2 separate regions of the Homo sapiens genome follow, and region 2 is linked to region 1. The links are contacts of gene promoters, found by promoter capture Hi-C in blood cells and fetal thymus (Javierre and others, 2016). All regions are on one chromosome and are shown on one strand. The core of a region is centred on a gene start or on the middle of the fragment in contact, and the rest is flanking DNA. Distances in the headings are between cores, read along the strand shown.

The links. Contacts are between HindIII fragments. The CHiCAGO score rates a contact against its expected background, and 5 or more counts as called.
Region 2: a fragment that was not itself captured here is called in contact with the fragment with the promoter of TESPA1 in region 1 in 1 of 17 cell types (M0 macrophages); the score reaches 5.4 in M0 macrophages.

Annotation. Positions count from the first base shown.
Region 1 is chr12:54,979,830-54,987,634 of GRCh38, reverse strand. It overlaps TESPA1 (thymocyte expressed, positive selection associated 1), which reads left to right and starts at 2,873. Exons shown (of 11, transcript NM_001136030.3): 1 at 2,873-3,050. LOC107984515 (a long non-coding RNA gene) reads right to left here and starts at 2,784. Exons shown (of 2, transcript XR_001749161.2): 1 at 2,670-2,784. The HindIII fragment of the contact is 6,023 bases long and covers 2,432-7,805 here.
Region 2 is chr12:54,662,796-54,670,600 of GRCh38, reverse strand. No RefSeq gene overlaps it. Among named protein-coding and RNA genes, the nearest start is that of DCD, 18 kb to the right of the region's middle. The HindIII fragment of the contact is 2,450 bases long and covers 2,213-4,662 here.

The sequences.
Region 1 (7,805 bases), core at 1,624-4,123:
CCTCCTCCTAGGAATCATATAGTCTTCATCTTTGTCTTTCAGAAGCTGCTTGTAGAAGAGAAAAATATTTCTTTCAAAAAATAAATCACAAATACTATAAACATATAAACCTACATATGTACTCATAAAAATTAAGAATAAATATAAATAAAAACCAAAAATTAATACATCTTTTTTATTAACAAAAAAATCTCTAGCAATTGCTTGTGAAATGGTATCTTTAATGAGTGAGGTAATTTTGACAGATAGACATAGTATTCTGCAGAAACTGAAAATATTATATTTCATGCAAATCAAAACCACAATGAGATACCATCTCACACTACTCAGAATGGCTATTATTAAAAAGTCAAAAAATAAAAGATGTTGGCGAGGTGGCAGAGGAAAAGGAATGTTTATACACTGTTGGCGGGAGTGTAAATTAGTTCAACCCTTGTGGAAGACAATGTGGCGATTGCTCAAAGACCTAAAAACAGAAATATCTTTAGACTCAGCAATCCCATTACCGAGTATATACCTGGAGGAATATAAATCATTCTGTTATAAAGACACGAGCACATGTATGTTTGCTGCAACACTATTCACAATAGCAAAGACATGGAATCAACCCAAATGCCCAGTGATGATAGACTGGATAAAGAAAATGTGGCACATATACACCATGGAATACTATGCAGCCATAAAAAAGAATGAGATCATGTCCTTTGCAGCAACATGGATGGAGCTGGAGGCCATTATCCTTAGCAAACTAACACAGGAACAGAAAACCAAATACCGCATGTTCTCACCTATAAGTGGGAGCTAAATGATGAGAACACATGGACACATAGAGGGAAACAACACACACTGGGGCCTATGGGAGGGTAGAGGGTGGAAGGAGGGAGAGGATCAAAACAAATACCTATTGGGTACTAGGCTTAATACCTGGGTGATGAAATAATCTGTACAACAAACCCCTATGACAGGAGTTTACCTATGTAACAAACTTGCACATGTACCACTGAACTTAAAATAAAAGTTAAAAGAAACTATTATATTTCAAGAGTCTTAAAAATAGCTGCAATTTCTTGAGCATTTGCTGTAAGGTAGGCGCTGGACTGAATACTCTGTATTCCTTTATTCTTATAGCTCTACAACCACTCCTGTAAGGTTATCCCCATTTAGCAGCTAACAAACTGAGACCTAGAGATGTTAACGTATCCAAGACTACAGAGCTACTTGATGCCAGAGCTTCACTCTAAAGCCTGCTCTCCTAACCATCAAACTATCAATGTTAACAAAATGTTGACATTTGGGCCAGGACAATTATTCCTTATACTGAAGAGTCCCATCCCTTCAAAAGCACTTATCATCATTGGCCCTCAGGTACTAAATACCAGTATCAGCTTCCCATTTCTTTGAAAATTAAATCTCTCTCACATATTTCCAAACTCCCTACCGAAGTTATATTCTCCATTTCCCAAACATATTGGAAAACAACTGTTAAGGAAAACATTGAATTCTAGAAACTTAGGATTTAAAAGAGTTGTTAAGTTTCCATTAGTTCAGCTTTTATAGTTAATTTGTACGGAAAAGAATAGTAAATAAAGAGAATTAGGGCGTGTTGGATTTAGCATTTTACTTGTTGACTGTGAAGCTAATTCTCAGAGAAGCACATATTTAGCATCTACTATGTCCTGAGAAAATATGTTAGATATTTTCATGCCTACGTAAAAGGAATAGCGTGGGAGAAGGGTTGAGTGAGAAACAGAGAGAATTGTTATTTTCCTCACATTATACTTGAAGAAAATAATGTTTTGAGAACTTAATTTGCCAAGCAAGAATTTTATTTAGGATTATTTCTACCATATTATAGCTATACTATGGATACTCAATGGAGTTGTCCCATTGATGATTGGAAATGGAATTTAGAAACATGGTAAAAAAAAAATCTAACTATACCTATAGCCAAAAAATCAGAAAGAAGGTAATGAACATGTGAAAATCAGTCACAATTAACACATTAGAGGAGTGCCTTGTAGAATAAATATTGTGATATACATTCATAAATAAATGATTTAAAGAAGGAAACAGTAGAATCAGGAGAGAGACAGAAAGAAGATATCCAAAATGCAGCAGCATCCTACGGAGAAGAGTGTTCAGAGATACTGGAGAAGCGAGGAGGGATAGTTAGCAGTGCTGGATGCTCCCGGTGGGTGAAAGTGATTGAGGCCTGGGAGAAACCTTTTAGAGTTCAACAAGCCTTTTCCAAACTGAAAACCAATAAACTGAAGACATCTTCAGGGTGTAACCGATTTTAAAAGTTCAGCTTTGAAAACGTTGGGGAAAGCAGTCATTTACTACAAAAACAAAAACTTTGAAGTGGTTTGAACATAAAACAAAGTTAAGAAACTAACAGAAAAAAAAAGTAGTCAGTATTCAAAAACAAGCTTCGGGGGAATTTACCAGAGTATGAAAGTTATCAACACAGAGCGACTGGCTCAGAGCCCTCTCAAGTGTGTGATACGACTGGAAACTTCTTCTCTGAGATAAACGCCAGATCATTTATGAGAGAGAGCTTTCCCATTTTCAGACAGCTCTCCTGAGGACAGAAGGATTTATCTGCAGCAGTGGAATTCTAGTTATATGGTAGGAAGACTCCTGCACACACCTCTTTAAATGGACTGTACCTTTGCCTTAATAGGAAAAGATCTCCTGTTTTTCTGGAAAGACAGAGGCAGCTCTGGGGCAGGAAGGTCTTCCTAGTTGTGAGCACCGTGTCTACGGATGGTTTGTCCTTCGCTCAGTCTCCTGAGCCGGAGCAAAGGATGTGGCTGGGCCAGGAGGCGGGGACTGCATCTACATGTGTGGATGTGTGTGTGTGTGGTGTGTTCTCATTTCCGCTTCCCCTTTTGAGCAGGCAACAGCAGTTGAATGAGTTCAGGGAGAAAGGCATAATCTACAACATGATACTTTCTCACTTGCTTCACCTCTGTGCCCACACCTGTGAAGGCCTCGGCCCAGCTTCGACAACTGCTTTGCCTCAAACTCAGCTTTCTACCAGCAGACAGGTAAGCACAGCCTTTATCTCAGTTTCAAGGCTGTACTGATTTAGGGTGATGCTAGGAGAAAGAAGGAAACATGTCAGAGAAAAATCAGGCTGTCAAGTCAAGGGAAAATCAAGAGAAAATCTCCCACCACTCTTACTTCAACCTTAAAAGCATCCATCATTATGCCTAGGAGAACGATGCTGGGTGCCCTTTTGCTTTCGTTTGTTTGTTTTCTCTTTATTATCAGAGAGGTAATCTTTCTAGATTCTCAAAACTTGGGTCTCTTTGATGACTTGAATAACATTTTAGGAATTTTTTTTCACCTTTCTCACCTGCAAAGTTCTTCTCTGTGTCTTGCTGAACTCATTGTTGCTGCAATTTCCATCTGATTATAACATCGAAAAGTTCTCAAGGAAGAAGTTTCCCGGTTTCATTTCAGGCCCTACTCTAGTGTCCATAGCTCCAACCATTGAGAGTACCTGGCTGAAATCAACTTTGCTTTCTGTGGGTATGACCTCTTTCTTCAGAAGCTGTAGAAGAAACTTGTTGAGATAAACTGCAGCAAGATATATTGAGGTCAGCTACGAGGGAGGATGTACACACTTGAGTGAGGTAAGGTCAAATTCACCGGGAGGCTCAAGATAGATGGATAGCCACCATCAGGACCAGATTTCAGGGTTCACATCTCAAAGATAGATAGATGGATGTGTTGCCTTCTCAGTGACCTACATAATATTGGGGGCTTCATGCTCCTCCAACACCCCTTGCCCCAGTGGTAGCAGGCAGAGCATATCACCACCTACATGAGTTTTGGGGTAGATGGAGGAGTGGAAAGATCCTCCACCCTGGGGTTTTCCCATGCCCCTTCTGTGCCACTAAGCTCACCAGTGGGTGGAAGAAAAAGGGTGGGTCCCCAGGGCAGGGCAAGGACAAGAAAGGAGAGTTCCACAGAAGTGATTTGACAAGACTGTGAGCATTTACAGGAGATATCCAGGGAAGTACTAGTGACTCTGTATACCACAAATGGTCCTGAGTAGAGAGGTAAGGAGACTTTCTAGATGGTGCAGGGCAGTACCTAGGATGGGAGGTTGGAGGTAGGAACCTTCAACTTGTGTGTCCAAGTATCAGACTCAATAGTTGTTCAGCTGAGTGATTAGAGATAAAGATCTCACAATATTGTCTTGCAGCATGAAGTGTTAGTAGGAAGAAGGGAAGTCAGGTTTATTGTCTGTCTCTACTTGGACTATTATCAGAAATAACAAGCTGAAGATATAGCAGAAGGGATAGAAAGCAATTTAACATCTGAGTTATTCGCATGCACCCCAGGGTGTTTAGAAACCATTTACAACCACGCTACCAACATGTTCTCATAACTCTTGGGTTTTTTGAAAATTAAGATGGAACCCTGCGATTCAGCATTATGTAGTGAACATGAAGCCCCAACCGTCATTTTCAGTTCAATGTTTGATTTGGATTCTAGTATGGAGGTCTCGTCTCAGCCAATGCTGTGACTTACAAGATTCCTTCTGGGCTACAGTAAGGGGAAAAGATCACACGTTTATTTCCACCTGCAAACTGACAACTGTTCTCTTTTCCACCTAAGGCACAAGACCAAAGTGGATATTCCAGTACCCACAGTACTGTGTGCCTTACAACACCCAGGCCTGATGCAGAATGGCCTAAACACAGATTTCAGATTGAGAAAAGAGTTCAGTCAAATAAGTAGAGGGACGAGGAGAAGAGAGTGTGTAGATATTGAAAAAGAAAAGCAGGAAAGAAGAAAAATGAATATATGCAGGACAGAGCTTATTACCAAGGAAATGAAACTGAAGAATTAAAGATACGAATTCACAGAGCTAACACAATGGTTGAGAAATCTGCTCATTCTCCCTACTTTCTCTTGATGAAGCCATCTATAAATCAGCTCAGATAAACTGCTGTTTCTTATTCTTGATGTCTTTATTGCCCATTCAAATGAAGATATTTGATGTCTCCCTACATTGAGAACAAGCGATTAATTTTTTTTCCAAATCCACAACTTTAATATTTCCTGTAGCAATTATACAAGCCTTTCTTAAAATTCATATCCTAAAAGTGGAAGTAAGGAAGAAAGGGAAGGAGAGGAAAAAGGTCTTAGATGGTCTTCTTTCAGTATTTATTCAGCTACGCTTATTTGTGGGAGAAAGAGTATGAAAAGGGAGGGGAATAGGAGTTCTATTGACTAATGGGCATTTTTTCTTTCTGTTATTTACCAAGTAACATCTCTCCTTTTCCCCGAACAGATTGAACTGCTCCTTAGACAATAGAAGTCTCAGAATGCTCAAATATTATACTCAGGGAAATTCTTGTTCTGATGATCTTCCAACCTGAGTGACATGGAAGAGGGTTAGGAGCTAGAAGACAGTTCTATGAAGGAATGTGAGAATTTGTTGCAGATTGGGGTATGTCAAATGGGGGACAATCCACCTGGGTTGAGGTGGAGTTTGTCCAGTTCATGAACAGAGAAATGTTAGCTACTCTGGGATTTCCCGCAGCTCTGCGATGGTAATGATGTATATCTTGGCTGTGGATGCAGAAGGTCTTATGGGCCACATCATGGAAACCCCATTTCCTTCTTCTCTCCTCCCACACTGGTTCTCACTCTCAGTCTCAACTCACAGGCACTGCTTGGGGCATAGGTACAAAACAGACAGAAGAGAAGAGAGGTCTGTCTCATACATGTCCCCTAGAGCACTAAAGGCAAACCTGGGACTGGGCCTTGGAAACCAAGTGTGGCAGGAGGAAGGCTGTATGATATAAAGGAAGAAAGCATGCATCTGGAACTCAGAACTTGTGAGTTTGGTTCCCATTTAAAACCACTAATATTCTTTGTGACTCCAGGCAAGCCTGCTTCTCCCTCCCTCTCTCTCTCTCTTTCTCCCTCCTTTCTCTCTCTCTTCAGTTTCCTCAACTACAAAATGAGTGAACAGGATTAGGTAATCTCTCTGGTCCCTTTGGGAATTAGGTAAGAAAGAAAGACTTTTTTTTTTTAATATATTATACTTTAAGTTCTAGGGTACACGTGCACAATGTGCAGGTTTGTTACATATGTATACATGTGCCATGTTGGTGTGCTGCACCCGTTAACTCGTCAGTTACATTAGGTACATCTCCTAATGCTATCTCTCCCCCCTCCCCCCACCCTAGGACAGGCCCCAGGAAAGAAAGACTTTTCATTGCTTACTTTTTATCTCTGCTTAACACAGATTTAAAAAATCTTTTTCACCATCTTGATTTTATACTGTCAACTGTACCCTGCAATTCTCACCTTCTTCCTTCCTTCTTTCCTTCCTTATTCCTCAAGATGTTTCAACTTTAGTGAACATCTTAGACTGAGGGGAGATTCATAATCATAATCATATCTATCACTTATTAAGCACCACCTTTATACATCAGGGACTTAATATGTGTTACCTGATTACAACTGCCAATCACCCAACTAGTTTGGCACAGTATCTATTTTATGAAGAAAATTAGGTATAGACTAGGTGTGGTGGCTCACACCTATAATCCCAGCACTTTGGGAGGCCAAGGTGGGAGGATTGCTTGAGGCCAGGTGTTCAAGACCAGCCTGAGTAACACAGCAAGACAAAAGAAAAAGAAAAAGAAGAAACTTAGGTATAGAAGAAAAGATAGTGTTACCAAGGACAAATATGCAGAAAGCAGACAGAACTATGATTCCAAATTAGGCTTACTCTGATTCCAAGGCCCAAACTCTTTCTACAGTTTTCCTTTTCTTTAATTTCTAAATAACACTCTGAACTTTAAAGAAAAAGAAGCATTGGTCATCCTTACTGAGCCCCTTGAAAATTGCCCCATGGTGAAGTATCTGTAAGCAGAGCTGATATTTGTCAGGTGCAAACTGGTAGGCTAATAGTTGCTAAAATATTAAAATATGTCTACTAATGATAATTATCCACTTTCCCAAGCCCTCTGAGTGCCCATGACCAGCCCAGCTATCCCAGCTCTTTCCTCAAGACTCCCCAGACAGGCCCCAGAAATTCAAGGCCACATCAGCCATGTACCGGGCGGGGCCCCACCACAGGGCGGTGATGGTATCAGCTCTCATTGCTCTGTGGTGCCCCAAACCGTTATGAAATATTCTGAATGCCACAACAACCTGAAAGTAATGCGGAATTCCAGGCAGATTCTCTCCTCCCAACTAGAAGTTAGGTGGGCCCTTGCCAAAAAAACCACTCTGTAAGCCTGAGGAAGGCTAAACTGCTTCATAATCACCTAGCTGGAGTCAGAAAGGAAATTATTCTAATAACACAAACAAAGCAACACTTCCTGCACTAAGACTGTCACAGAACCAAATATAAATTACATTGTGTTTATGGTGCTTCTTCTCTACTAGACTATAAGATGGAGAGCTTACATAGATGCAAAATGGAGAATTTACTAAAATAACTTCTCCTTTTTTTTTAATCCCAAATTACATTGGATGGTGACATTGGGCCATTTTCTTATTCTAATGTCAGTGGAAAAACTATATAACATGGAGTCAGACCAACTTGAGTTTAAATCTCAGCACTACAGGGATGTGGCCTTGGACAAATAACGTATCTCTGTGAGGGTCAGGTAACCATAATCAGCTCTAAAGTGGTTGTCAGGATTAAGTTAAGCAGTTTACAGGAAAGTTTTATGGATAAATATGCAGTACTCTATACATTTCAGTTATTATGACTACCTACCTTTGACTTGCCCGTGTCAATGTGTAGTGAATCCCCACCTGCT
Region 2 (7,805 bases), core at 2,188-4,687, 320 kb after region 1:
GGTGGACACAAGTACATGTAAGGTTACAAATATATTGGTAGGAAATAAAGGGAATTTGTACCAAAACACTTGTATTTTCTCTGTGAAGCTGATGAAGTCACTAGGTGTGTGTGAAGGATGTAGTGGGATCCTAGTTGAGGTTACAAACCAGAAGTTTATAATGTATAATCTTTATGGTTTTATATCCTTTTTTTCCTACAAGTGCTCAATAGCCCTGGAATAGGACAGAGAGAGTAGAGAGCTAGATTTATCAAGACTCAGAATTTGCCAAACTTTGTAAAAATGAGGTCAGGAAGTGACACAGATTGGCAAAAAACTTCTCTAAGTGGAAGACCATGTAATTTAACCTGGAAAGGAAAGAACGTGAAGACTGGAGTAGGCATACAGAAAAAGAGAAAATAAAATGGTCAGGGAACTGAAGTTTGAAAAATAAATATAGAAGAAGTATCAGAATGAAAGAGTTGGAAGGATAGGTGATATGTGGTGAGGATGTGGGTGTTTTCAGAATTGGAGTAACTCTAAGAAATGACCACGGCCACAGATTGACCATGGGAGTTGGGGTGAAAGTTATGATAAGGTCAATTTCTACTTTCACCCGAACTTCCATGGTTCCCTAGAACCCAGACTTCTGGGTAAGTCATGGTCATGATCCATGAAGTTGTCCAGCAGCTTAAAACAAAAAAGAAGACCACCACTCAGGAGTAAGTCTTCCATGAAGGAAAGGAGTCGCTGGGAGCCCAGCAGGTGAAACAATGAGGAGGGGTAGACAGATGACCCAAGACTCCTCCGAGGAGGAGGTATTAGTGATATGACTCAATGGACTCTGCAGTGGAGTCTAGGATGATCCACATGTCTGTGAATTCCACTGCCCAACCTAAGAAGCATGGCTGTGGGAATGAGTGGACTGCACTTCAGAAGAGACTCAGGGAGAACCATGTTTTCCTATTGGGATTGCATAATTTAATTTAGTTAATTTCTGCTTTTACATCTATTAATGCCCTCTTCTATTTTTCACATTGTTTGATTAGACATTTTCTAGTTTCTAAACTTGAATTTACTTTTGCTACATGTTCATTTCTCATAAAATACTAAACACCAGGGATCCTCTAAGAACAGTTGGCTGCAAAGTAAAGGTGCGCAGCGTTCACATATCCATTTCCAAAACAATCATCACTTAAGGCTCTGTTTTCTTTTTTTTATTATTATTATTATACTTTAAGTTTCAGGGTACATGTGCACAATGTGCAGGTTAGTTACGTATGTATACATGTGCCATGCTGGTGTGCTGCACCCATTAACTCGTCATTTAGCATTAGGTATATCTCCTAATGCTATCCCTTTCCCCTCCCCCCACCCCACAACTGTTTTCCTTTTAACCTAAGAAAGATTGTTGTTTTTCCCCAGGGACTCTTTTTTTAATTATTATGATTTGCCTTTCATTTTTAATTTCTAACTTGTATTATATGGTGGTAAGAAAAAGTGGCCTTTACAATTTCTTCTTTGGAGAATGGATTGAGGTATTCTTTGATACCTAGTATTTAATCGATTTTGTAAAACCACACAGGTATTGAAAAAATGTTTATTCTTTTCATTGGCTATAACATTCAAGCAAGTTTGTCAATTGTGTTATTCAAATGTTCTGTATACAAAATTATATTCTGTCCACATAAACTGTCACCTTCCGAGACTTAACAGATCGATGTCTCCTACAGAGAGTGTGGCTCTGTCAGGTAGTCCTCATAGTCATCACAGTTTTTGCTTTGTTTCAATGCAAGTGTGATGCATAAAAGTTTGTAACTATTACATCTTCTCAGTGAATTTTACCTTTTTTAAACCTATGCGATTTAAAACAGCACTTCATGTTCTCTTTAATTATTTTGGCCTTGCGTTCTATTTTGCCAGATAATGTTGCTATTCCATTTACCTAACATTTCTCTCTCCATCTCTTTATATTCAACATTTGTGTGTCACTTTATTTCTGGTGTGTCTATTATAAAAGAAATCTATGACTGCAGTTCACCTTCTAACCCTGCCATTTATTTATTCTTTTCTTGTTCTTTCTTTCCTTCTGAATCTTTGCTGGATTGATCAAGTTCTTTGTTGTTGTTGCTCTTTTCTACTCTGCCACGTTAAAAGATTTATAAATCAGTTAGAATTCAGTTCAGCTGCATGGAATAGAAACTCCAAAATAAGCAGCGTAAAGACATAAGCTTCTCCCCAGCCCCTAAGTAAAAGAAGACTAGAGAAAGGCAGCCTAGGACTCCTGGTAGGAGGCCCCGCTGTCCTCAGGAATCCAGCCACCTCTTTTCTTTCTGCCCTATCATTCTCAAGGACCTAAGGACACAACTTCTAGTCTCAAGGCCATATGGCAGTTGTGGTGGCTCCAGCCAACCTGTCCAATTTCCAAACAGCGGGAAGAAAGAAGGGAAATGGGCACAAAAACACGTGTCTGCTGAGTCAGCTCCTTTTAAGAAATCTTTGCTCATATTTCACACAGTATTTCCATTTACATTCAATCAAGTGGCCACTACTAACCGCAAATGTGGCTAGGAATGTTATCTTTTAACTAGACACATTACCCCGATAACTAAAATTAGAATTCTATTACTTAGAAAGAAAGCAAGTATGGATACTGAGTAGGCCAGTATCATCACCACCACCATCTACATACCATACCCATTCTATATTATTTTTAAGTTTCTAACAAACCTATTTAAATCAATGCTTGTATCAGTATCAGCAACTAATAACCAGACTTTACCTTCCTCAGAAAATGAGACCTGTATCATGTATAATTTATCCCTCTTTCCCTATCTTGTAAGACTTTAACAGTATCTATAATTTTATTTCAGATATGGTTAATTTTTGTTATTAATATAACATATAACTGTATTATTTTATATATTATTTTATTTATAATCATATATATAATTATACAAATAATATAATTATTTTATTATATAATAGATGTATTTCTATTTTAGGATTTCTTAGCAATGGTATTAAACACAATGATAATAACAAGAATTTGTTAGACTTAACTATATATTCTGTTAGTTTCTCTGTTTACCACTCTTTCTTGTATATCCTATTCGCCTTCCTTGAAATTGTATTGTCTGTAGACTAGATTTTCCAAAAAGGAGCATGAGTGATATATTTTCATAGTTCTTTATTTTGGCCTCATATTTGACTGGCTATGTAACTCTAGCTCTAACTTGGCAGGCCCTGATCCATTGTCCATTAATTTTCTGGAGCAGACCAGAAGCCTGGTGCTAATCTTATTTGCGTTCCTTTGCAAGTTACCTTTTTTCTCTGAAAATTAGTAAGCCTTTTTAAACCTCTGAAATCCAGAAATTTCACCCGCATGAATTTAGGTGTGGGTGCCTTTCAGTAGTCCTACCTAGCACTTAGTGTATGCTTTAGATCTAAAGTCTGGAGGATATCTTGCTATCAGGGAAACTTCTTCTATTATTTCTTCGACCCTGTCTCTCCCATCTGTTTTATTCTCTTTTACTTCTCTTAAGTGAGTATTTGGTCCCCTGGGCATATCCTCCATATCTTTTAATGTCAGTCCCATAATTTCTATTGTCTTTCTGCCTTCACATTACAAAAAAAAAAACACCTTAATTTCTAAATCACTAATTTATTCTGCGACCACATACTTTCAGTTACTCAGCCCTTCTATTAATTGCTTTCTTCTTATAATCATCTTTTAAAATCATAAGTCTTTCTTCTTTAGTGATTGGCTTTTCTTCATGGAACTCTACCTTAGCTTTATTGATTTAATATCCACTTAATTTTTTTAAGCAATTAGCATTTTATCTGAAATGAAAAGTTTTGTTTCATTGTTGATCAGTTATTGTGTTTATTCATCTTGGTTCTTCTTTTCTTTTTCTTTTTTTATTTTTATTTTTCCTAACCACTAGGCTACAAGGGAGGTTCTTCTTTTTCAATATCATTCATTTTCCTTCAATATTTAGTAATTCTTTGTTTTAAATGCAGTACCTTTGGTTCTTCCTCTCTTGGCACTTTGCAATGCTATAGGCATCTGGCATAGGTTTCTATATGTCTGTTTCCATGATGAGTCTCTCTCTTTCTCTCTTTCTCTCCCTTTTTCTCTCATCTTCTCTCATGGAAGGTGCAAGGGGTGAATACGATGAGGATGCTGACAGAAAGGTTTCCCAATAAGGTTGGATGGTGGATGGTGAATGTATGGAAGTGGAGCCAATAGGCAATCCGGTGTCCCGTTGTAAAGAACATTCCTCCTTTCTTTTCCTTTCTTCCTCTGTGACCATCTGAAGGCCCAGAGTTACCTCAGGTCCTGCTCGACTCCTTCCTCCATTTGCTCACTCCAGGGCACATCCTTCAACCAGTCACTCTGTAAACACAAAAAGGGGAGGGAGGGAGACTGGCAAATGACTGGAGACTGGCAAATAAGCAAATGACAGAATGGAATGGAACAGAAATGGCTGTTCCAGGAAAAGTCATTTGCTTATTTACCTTTATGATTATTATCCCCTGGGCCAGTTTCACCTTGGCCTTATTGATCCCTGGCTTCAACTTTCTCCAGGGTTCCTTGGGGAAGAGCAGGTCTCATCTCTGCAGTAGTTCTCTCCTGCTTTTCTTTTGCTTAAGTTTCTCCATCATCTGATTCCAGAAGCTTTGTTTCTCTTTTAGCTTTTTAATTAGAAAAATGATCACTGTTCATTTATTCACCAAATATTTATTGAGGGTCATATCTATAGAAGTGAAACTTTCTTTTAAACACAGTTACCAAAAGATAGTTCTGGGCCACCATAGGCCTCCTCCCACGGGAGGCTCCTAGCATGGAGGCAAACAGCAGAACACGTGCTCCCCCAGACAGCCTGGGTCCCAAAGGAAGGAAGAGAATAAGGCTCTCTGCTGGCCACATCTGCCTCGTCTTTTCTTCCAAACTCCACAATTATTTTAAGTCACTCTTAACTAGAGGTAAAGAGAGACCTCAACTGTTGTGCCTCAAGTTTCCTCAACATGGGAACATTTGGAATGAAGGAAAGCTGTTCCCTCTTCTAACAATATGCAACAAACAAAAGGTTAGCAATCAAAGTACTTAAGGAGCTACGTCAGAGAGAGAAAGTTTTTTCTAAATAGCAAAAAAAGCCAAAGGACATAAATGATTCACAGGAGAGAAAATACAAAAGACTACTAATCCTGTCAAAATCACCGGTAAGCAGAGAAATGCAAATTAAAGTATTAACCACAAAATATTATCTTTTGCCCAACAAGTTGTCCAAAATTTAAAATATTGACAGTATCTAGTGGTGATCAGCATATGGGAAACAGGCACTTTCACACACTATTGGTTAAGATATAACTGGAACAACTTCAAGGAAGACAGTGTCTGTTGTTGCCTGACTTTTTAATGACTGCCATTCTAACTGGTGTGAGATGGTATCTCATTGTGGTTTTGATTTGCATTTCTCTGATGGCCAGTGATGATGAGCATTTTTTCATGTGTTTTTTGGCTGCATAAATGTCTTCTTTTGAGAAGTGTCTGTTCATATCCTTCGACCACTTTTTGATGGGGTTGTTTGTTTTTTTCTTGTAAATTTGTTTGAGTTCATTGTAGATCCTGGATATTACCCCTTTGTCAGATGAGTAGGTTGCAAAAATTTTCTCCCATTCTGTAGGTTGCCTGTTCACTCTGATGGTAGTTTCTTTTGCTGTGCAGAAGCTCTTTAGTTTAATTAGATCCCATTTGTCAATTTTGGCTTTTGTTGCCATTGCTTTGGGGATCTAGAACTAGAAATACCATTTGACCCAGCCATCCCATTACTGGGTATATACCCAAAGGATTATAAATCATGCTGCTATAAAGACACATGCACACGTATGTTTATAGCGGCACTATTCACGACAGCAAAGACTTGGAACCAACCTAAATGTCCAACAACAATAGACTGGATTAAGAAAATGTGGCACATATACACCATGGAATACTACGCAGCCATAAAAAATGATGAGTTCATGTCCTTTGTAGGGACATGGATGAAACTGGAAACCATCATTCTCAGCAAACTATCGCAAGGACAAAAAACCAAACATGTTCTCACTCATAGGTGGGAATTGAACAATGAGAACATATGGACACAGGAAGGGGAACAACACACACCGGGGACTGTTGTGGGGTAGGGTGAGGCGGGAGGGATAGCATTAGGAGGTATACCTAATGCTAAATGACGAGTTAATGGGTGCAGCACACCAACATGGCACATGTATACATATGTAACAAACCTGCACGTTGTGCACATGTACCCTAAAACTTAAAGTATAATAATAATAAAATTTAAAAAAAAAGAAGACAGTGTCAAATATCTATCAATATTTTAAATAAACATATTCTTTGAGCCAGCAACTCAACCCCTAAGAGTCCATCCTTCAAAATTATTCATACATGTACAAAAATAGCATTATTCCATTTCAGCATTATTTATAATAGGGGAACATTGGAGACAACCTAACAAATCCGTCAACAGGGAAGTGTCTAAATAAAATGAGTATATTCATCGTTTGAAATATTAGGCTATAGTTTTAAAAGAATGAGATACAGCTATAGGTACTAATAAAATAAGAAAGATATACAAGAGAGAAAGTCAAACTATTAAGACATAGAGCTTTAGATAAAAATAGAATCCTGTTTTTAATTATAAAATTATAATTAAATTATAATATATCAGCATTTTTATAATGCTAAATATATTAGCATTATAATTACATAATTATAATCCTGTTTTGAATTTTTAAATCAATTTTAAATAAACATATGTATATATGTTTATAAATTGGTGGGAAAATATTTGGAAGAGTACATAGAAAATTAAAGGTGCTGCTTATAGAGAAGAGCCAGTATTCAAATCTTTGTGATAGCCAGACTCCATCGCCTTACCGCCAGTCTCTCAAACAGTATTATAATCGTGGGTTTTCTTATCTCCACCACTACACTATGACTCTTGAAGTCAAGAAGTGAATCCCTAGGGTCAAGACACTTCTTGGTAGAAGCTCAACAATTCAAAAGGAAGGAAGGAATCTCCAACTATCTGCCTCTTGGTCTCAAGTGGACCTTTTATAATCCCTACTACCTTGACCATGTGGATAATTTCCTTCTCAATAAGCCCTCTGGTATGTGTGGACATGCACAATTAGGACATTTCTCCCTGTTCTAGAAGCCTAACCTGAATCCTGGAAAATCTCAGGCCTTGGGATTGAAGTCTGATTGAAGTCCAGACTTTATGGTCAGTCTTTTGTTCTGGGATCATACAGTGCCATTATTTTCCTCACCAATATTTATAATTATGCATCTACTTTCAGACTCACGATATTAAGAATAGCCTAAGGTGAAACCAGTATAATGAGGATGAACTCAATGTCCATTCTCTGTTTTTTGAGAGTGCTTAAGGACCTCACCTTTAATCATACACATGTTTGTAAATTGGTGGGAAAAGTTTGGAAGGATACATAGAAAATTAAACCAGCAATTTAACCTCTAAGAGTCTATCTTCAAAAATATTCATACATGTACAGAATGTTGTTTTGTTCTCAGAGATACTTTAAATAATCTAATGTATGTGAAAGCATGTTGACTTTGAAATTCTAAATTACTTTGGAAATATTAGTTATTATTTTCCCCATGAACTTCCTGCAACACAAACATATATGTTCATGCTGAATTGTATACTACACACACACACACACACATACACACACTCGCTCTCTCTCTGGCTAGTGTATCCAGTAAGAAAGCCTCAGCAGAGCCTATGACAGACACG